Linked DNA regions of Homo sapiens: region 2 is linked to region 1. Evidence: promoter capture Hi-C in 16 types of primary human blood cells and fetal thymus (Javierre and others, 2016). All regions are on one chromosome and are shown on one strand. Each heading gives the region's core, a stretch centred on a gene start or on the middle of the fragment in contact. The rest is flanking DNA. Distances are from core to core; before and after follow the strand shown.

The links. Contacts are between HindIII fragments. The CHiCAGO score rates a contact against its expected background, and 5 or more counts as called.
Region 2: a contact is called between a fragment that was not itself captured here and the fragment with the promoter of LPAR4 in region 1, in 1 of 17 cell types (fetal thymus). The highest score is 5.6, in fetal thymus.

Annotation. Positions count from the first base shown.
Region 1 is chrX:78,746,008-78,749,841 of GRCh38, reverse strand. It overlaps LPAR4 (lysophosphatidic acid receptor 4), which reads right to left and starts at 2,122. Exons shown (of 5, transcript NM_001278000.3): 1 at 1,808-2,122. The HindIII fragment of the contact is 2,609 bases long and covers 683-3,291 here.
Region 2 is chrX:78,886,952-78,890,400 of GRCh38, reverse strand. No RefSeq gene overlaps it. Among named protein-coding and RNA genes, the nearest start is that of MIR4328, 13 kb to the left of the region's middle. The HindIII fragment of the contact is 700 bases long and covers 1,280-1,979 here.

The DNA of each region.
Region 1 (3,834 bases), core at 873-3,372:
TTTTCCATCATTTATTTTCACCTGCTTACATTGGCCACTGTAAAACATTTTTTATTTCCTCAAAGTCTGCAAGCAAGGAGGGTCATTAATTTTTATTAGACTTAATGAAATGATTGCTAGATTTATTTGAATATTAGAAATAAATAGTATTAATTAATACCGGAAGCTAAGAATCACAGAGAAAGATGCCACTAATATCCTAAAGTCTTCCAAATTCCCTTATTTTCCTCATCCTCTGTCCTTGTGCTCATTTCAGCAGGCATATCACCTCTAATTGTTTAGGTCTCAACCCTCAACCCTTCCCACCTGTTTCCTGGTCACTTCACCCCTCAGAATATGAGGTTATCGGCATATTTCAGGACATAACCATGTAGAATCATTAGATCATTTACCCGTTACATTGTTCTGATAACTGATTATTTATCCGCTTAAAGTAAAGGTGGATTCCCAGTGGTAGGTAACCTTTTATTGGGCTCCCAATTTTCAGTACTAATATTCGCAAACACATTACAGGTTTTGTTCTTCCCCCAACAAGAAGGCCAAGGGCAGACTATATGTGATGACCATATACACAGACAAAAGGTAGCTACACAATTAGGCGCTGAACAAACCACAGCAAGGGCAACAATTCTCACTGCATTTTCCCAAAAGGCAATTGAATAGATCAAGCTTTAGCTAAGCTTGGCCTGAATGTTTCTGTGAGGCATCTTCCTGGTTCTCCCTTTAACTTGCAGAGAGCACACATTCTGAAAGACTGGCCTGATTGTTCCAATAAGGCTTTCATTCCCATCTCTGATTGGCAGGAGAGACTTTAGAATGTAGATGCCATCAAGTTTATCAGGTGAACTCATCCTTCTTGGCAAGAGTGCAACTTTTCATCTGTGACAAGGCAAAAGGTTTTATAATCTATGTTGATGGGATATGATGTTGGGAATTTTGTTCTGAAAAATAAACGTGTTGCAAAGCCATTGGGTAATCTGGATCTCAGGTTATTATTATTGTCTTTATGTTAGTCAAGATAAAGAAAGATGGTATAATTTTGTAAGGTAGCAAAGTGAATAACCCCACCAAGCTCTGAAATATTCTAACCTTTGAATTTGTCTGGTCTTTTCCACACTGAAATAATGATAAATTACATTGCTGAATTTCCTTTTAAAAGGTAACTGAAATACTGTATTTAGCAACTCAATAAGACCTTTTTACTGAAAATATTTAAAATTTACAAGAAGAGAGTTTAAAGATGACACATTGATGCATTTGTATGGCAAACAGCAATTAATTTCACATATAATTGCAAATTCAGTTTATGACAGAGTTTTTCATTCAAACATGATTCTTCCTTTATGGGCAAGTTCATGAATTATTCAATATAGCAAATGTCACATTCTCCATAAATCAATTAAGCATCAAAGACATGTCATGTATAGTTTTACTAGAAGAAACCTCATCATAATACAAGCCACGTTAGCGCACAATAAACTGTAAACCAAAGAAATACAAAGCTAGTCGACATACTTTCTAAATTGTTCTACACTGTGATTTTAAATTAGCTCTTTAGAACAACTGTGTTTACATGAAACAGCAGCCTGAAAATCCTGTATGTCTTCCACGGAAACAATATTATTGCCAAAACAATGGAAATTCTCGTTTTTTACCATTCATCACGAAGATCCTTGTTCAGTACTTCAGAGTTGAAGTCTAACTTCTTTCCTTACACTCTCAAAGCATCAGTGTTTCCACTGTAGTTTGTTATGCTATCCCCCACCCCCAAACGCCAAAATCAAATCTTTTTAAAAGAGAAACTTACCCCAAGAAAGAGTGTGCTAGATGAGAGAATGTGCTGATGCCTGTAGATAATTAGCTAATAAACATGTAAATGGGCAACTCGCCCTTTGGAAGTGCATATTTTTATCCATTTTTTTTTTTTTTTTTTTTTTTTTTTTTTTACAGGGAAAGGTTAGCCCAGCCTAAAGTAGCAGACTCTGGGCTGCCGCAGCTTTTTACTGCAAACCGCTCATTCTGTAAATGTGAGCTTATTTACATTTATCTCTTTCCCTTTGTTAACGACTCCCTCTCTTGAATGCTGTAGCCCGCATGCCTTTAGCAAACAGGACACAAAAAGGCCTGAAGTCCGAGCTGGAGCCGACGGCCAGGGGAACTCTTGGGGGTCTCAATAGGAAATGCTTTTCATTGGCTAAGGAGGCATTATTAGGAGTCTAGATCCCGCCCAATTCCCTGTGCTCCATCGTTCCCTTAGTCACCAGTCACTGGACTGAATAAGTTTTTCCTTAAAGAGCATTGCCCAGGAAAAGCAGTTTCACAGTCAAGAATTAATGGCTTAAGTGCCACTTGACAATATAAAAAGTGTCTTTCCTGACCAATTAATCCACAGAGAAAGCCTGTGTGCCTGTCTTTGCCGCAGGACTGCAGAGGAGGAGACAACATTTCAAACAAGGAGGAGTGTTTCAATTATGCATACCATGTTCGCTCCTACTTGTTTAAAATAATTACAACAATATTGATAATAATAAGTAGGGGGCAAGGAAAAGGCAAAAATGAAAGGTACCATAAAAATATTCCTATCACACTGTGCAAAATTCAATCTCCCACCATCACAAAAATATAAAGTAAATTTTAATACTACACTCACTTAAGCCAGATAAGTGCCCTCAGATAGAGATGTACTAGGGTCCCAGAGCTCTGACACCCACCTTCCAAGGACTAGGGAGTGTTCTGTAGCAAAAGGAGGGTCTACACTTCTCAAGTAACTGCCTCGCAGTAAGTCTAATTACCATGAAAATTTCAGAGATTTGCTAAAATACAAAATAAATAGCACAGATGCAATCTATTTACAATAGAGAGTTATCTGCAACTGTATACCTCCGCCCACCTCCCCCATGGCAAGATTTTCTTTTCTAATTATCTACAGGTTTACTGCCTTGGTCACTCACAATTCTTTTTTTTTTTCCTCCCTATATTTTCCTCTTCACCTCCCTCTCCTTGATCTGATTTTGTGGCAGAAACCCACTCATCCATCTGTAACTTCATTGTTGGCCCTTCCCCTCTGCCAGCCCACCCCTGCAAGCCTTCTCTACTCTATCTCCACCCACTGCAAAAGCCACCAACAGCAGCCCCTCCCCCTCCTCTGGAATGAAATTCTCTGCCCAGGGATAAGGTGCTTTCTTTCTCTTGGCAGAGCAGAGCCCCTGGAGTCTTGGAGGATCCTCTATTTGCTTCAGAACTTCAGTTTGTGTAATTAAGCTGCCTCCCAAGTAGGGCATGTTTCAAGCTTGTTTATTCTCCCTATTTGTTCAGCTCTATTGTGGCTCTTCTCACTATCAGTGGAGGCCAGTAAACAAGTTAGTGTGAAGCTGACACTAGCCTTATTACTTGTAACTGGCTCTAAAAAAACACTTTCTCTGTTGCTTCCTCTTCTCCATCCCACCGCCCATCTCTGTTCTTTTTATTCCCCTCTCTGCTTATCTCAAATATGTCTATTTCTGTCAGTTGCTGACATTGTCTGTGTCTTTATAAATGGTCTTTTACCAACTCTCATCCTAGACCAGTACTCGGTGCATTTGTCAGTCCACAGGCGAAAGATACAGTCTCTACCCTGCAGTATGCCAGAGTCTAGGTAGGGACACAAAGACACATGAAAAAAGTGGGATACCAAAGGTAAATTTTGAAAAAAAAAATACCAAGGCAGTTATATGGAGATTGAGTTCTGTAATAGATCAGAGGATGGAGATGAAGTCCCATGGATAGGGCCAGGAGGGTTTCTTAGAAGAAGTGGGATTTGTGCCACATTTTGGTGGATGATTCAGTATTAAATAA
Region 2 (3,449 bases), core at 380-2,879, 140 kb before region 1:
TAGACAAAAGTTTTGCAAATATTTTATCCCATTTCATAGGTTGCCTTTTCCTTGTGTTAATGCAGGCATACCTTGGAGATATTGCAGAATTGGTTTCAGACAACCACAGTGTAGTGAGTATTGCAATAAAGTGAATCACAATAATTTTTTTTAATCTTTCAATACATATAAAAGTTAAGTTTCCATGACACTGTAGTCTGCTAGGTTTGCAATAGCATTTTGTCTAAAAAATGATGTATATATCTTAATGTAAAAATTATTTATTGCTAAAAATGGTTAATGATTATCTATGCCTTCAGCAAGTTGTAATATTTTTGCTGTTAAAGGTTCTTGACTTAATGTTGATGGCTACCGACTGACCAGGGTAGTGGTTGCTAAAGGCCGAGGTGGCTGTTGCAATTTCTTAAAATAAGACAACAATGAAGTTTGCGGAATTAATTGACTATTTCTTTCACAAAGATTTCTCTGTAGCATGCAATGCTGTTTGATAGCATTTTACCCACAGTAGAACTTCTTTCAAAATTTGAGTCAATCCTCTCAAACCCTGCTGCTGCTTTATCAACTGAGTTTATGGAATATCCTCAAGCCTTTGTTGTCATTTAAACTATTGTCACAGCATCTTCACCAGGAGTACATTCTATCTCAAAAGAACACTTTCTTTGCTCATTCATAAGAAGCAACTCCTCATCCATTCAAGTTTTATTATGAGATTGCAGTAATTCAGGCCTATCTTCAGGCTCCACTTCTAATTCCAGTTCTCTTGGTATTTCCACCACATCTGCAGTTCCTTTTCCACTGAATTCTTGAACGCTTCAAAGTCATCCATGAGCATTAGAATTAACTTCTTTCAAAGCTCTGTTAATTTTGATAATTTTACCTTCTCCCATGAATCACAAATGTTTTTAATAGCACTTGGAATAGTGATTCTTTTTCTAGAAGGTTTTCTATTGACTTTGCCTGATCCATCCGAGGAATCATTGGATTTTGCAAGGCTATTACATCTATACCTTTACACAATGTAGTTCTTACATGATAAGACGTTAAAGTCATAATTACTCCTTGATGCATGGGCTGCAGAATAGATGTTGTGTTACCAGGCATGAAAACAGTATTAATCTTCTTGTACATCTCCATGAAAGCTCTTGGATCACTTAATGTATCATCAATACGCAGTAACATTGTGAAATAAATAGTTTTTATTTCTGAGAAGTAGTTCTCAAAAGTGGGGTTAAAATATTGAGTAAACTACTCTGTAAACAGACATGCTGTCATCCAAGCTTTGTTTTTCCATTGATAGAGCACAGGCAGAATAGATTTAGCAAAATTCTTAAGGACCCTGTGATTTTCAGAATTGTAAGTAGGCACTGGCTTCAACTTAGTCACCAGCTTCATTAGCTCCTAAAAAGAGTGTCAGCCTAGCCTATGAAGATTAAAAGCCAGGTGGTGACTTCTTCTCTTTAGCTATGAAAGTTCTACATGGCATCTTTTGCCAGTATAAGGCTGTTTCATCTACCTTGAACATTTGTTGTTTATTGTAGCTAACTTCACCCATTATCTTAAATATTGATGAAATATTATAGATAAATATTATCAATGACTTGCTTAAACTTCTACCTCAGCACTTACTGCTTCACCTTGTACTTTTATATTATGGCTCTTTAAACCTCATGAACCTGTGCTAGCTTCAAACTTTTACAGCTTTCTCACCTCTCTCAGTCTTCACAGGATTGAAGAGAATTAGGATCTTCCTCTGAATTAGGCTTTGCCTTAAGGGAATGTTATGGCTGGTTTGACCTATCCAGATCACTAAAACTTTCTTCATATCAGCAATAAGTTGTTTTACTTCCCTGATATTTGTGTGTTCAGTGGAGTAGCAATTTTAACATTCCTTAAGAAGTTTTCCTTTCCACTCACAATTAGGCTGTCTGACACAAGAGGACTTTTAGCCTCAGTTTTCAATATGCTTTCTTTACTAAGCTTAATTATTTATAGCTTTTTATTTAAAAAGAGAGACATACAACATTTCCCTTCACTTGAACATTTAGAGGTTTGTGTAGGATTATTAATTGGCCTAATTTCAGTATTGTTGCATCCCAAGGAGAGGGAGGAGAGCTGTTGAAATGGTCAGTCAGTGGAGCAGTCAGAACACATACAACATTTATCAATTAAGTTCACGTGTGCTATGCGGGTGCAGTTCATGGTGTCCCCAAACAATTAAAGTATTAACTTCAAAGATCACTGATCACAGATTACCATAATAGACAAAAAAAAATGAAAGAGTTTAATTATATAAAAATAATGAAAATGTAACAATTACCAAAAGGTAACACAAAGACATGAAGTGAGCACCTGCTGTTGGAAAAATGGTGCTGATAAACTTGCTGGTCACAGGACTGCCACAAACCTTCAATTTGGAAAAAAAAAAAAAAAAAGCAATATCTACAAGGCACAATTAAGCGAAGTGCAGTAAATTGAGGTATGTGCTTATAATACTGGATATAAATATGAGAAGACCCAAAGTCTTATAAACTTCCTTATTGCACCAAATTTTGCTCATTCAATGAAATTATGTTTCTATTTGTTAAAAAATGCATTTTTGATGCCTTGTTCTCATTTCCTTTGCTTGCTTCACCTTTTCCAACTGGTTCACACTTGCTCCCCCTTGCCAGTATATTTGGACTAACTACCATCCACTGTGGAAGAAGATAATTTGAAGAGACGTTATCGGTCAAATATACATACTCTACCAATATTAGTATCATCTTAAATTTCTCCATTAGACATTCGTTTATTTGGAACTTAAAAAGGCTATTGATTTTTTTTTGAAACTCTGAAAGTATCTGAAATTATTTCTCTCTAAGAGCCAGACACTAAGTGAGACTGCCTCTAAGTAGAAATGGTATCTGGGAAAAATGGGAGAGGTGAGTCATGAAAAGAAAAATATTTCTGAGAGAAAAAGGCAAGCAAATATTCAACAGTCTCAGATATAATTCATCCAGGTGTATCCTCACTCTTCCGTAAACATACTTGCTCATGGTTTTTATTTTCTTAAAATGACTCTTTTTTTTTTTTTTCTGGGTCAGAGTTCACTCTTGTTGCCCAGGCTGGAGTGCAATGGCACGATCTCGGCTCACTACAACCTCCGCCTCCCAGGTTCAAGGGATTCTCCTGCCTCAGCCTCCCAAGTAGCTAGGATTACAGGCATGCACCACCACGCCTGGCCAATTTTGTATTTTTAGTAGAAACAGGGTTTCTTCAGGTTGGTCAGGCTGGTCTTGAACTCCCGACCTCAGGTGATCCACCCGCCTTGGCCTCCCAAAGTGCTGGGATTACAGGTGTGAGCCACCGCGCCTGCCCTCCCCCCACCTTTTTTTCAGTATTTTAATACAAAAGTGTATTTCTTACTCATGCAACAGTCCAACAGAATGTTTTTTATTAAGTGACATTTC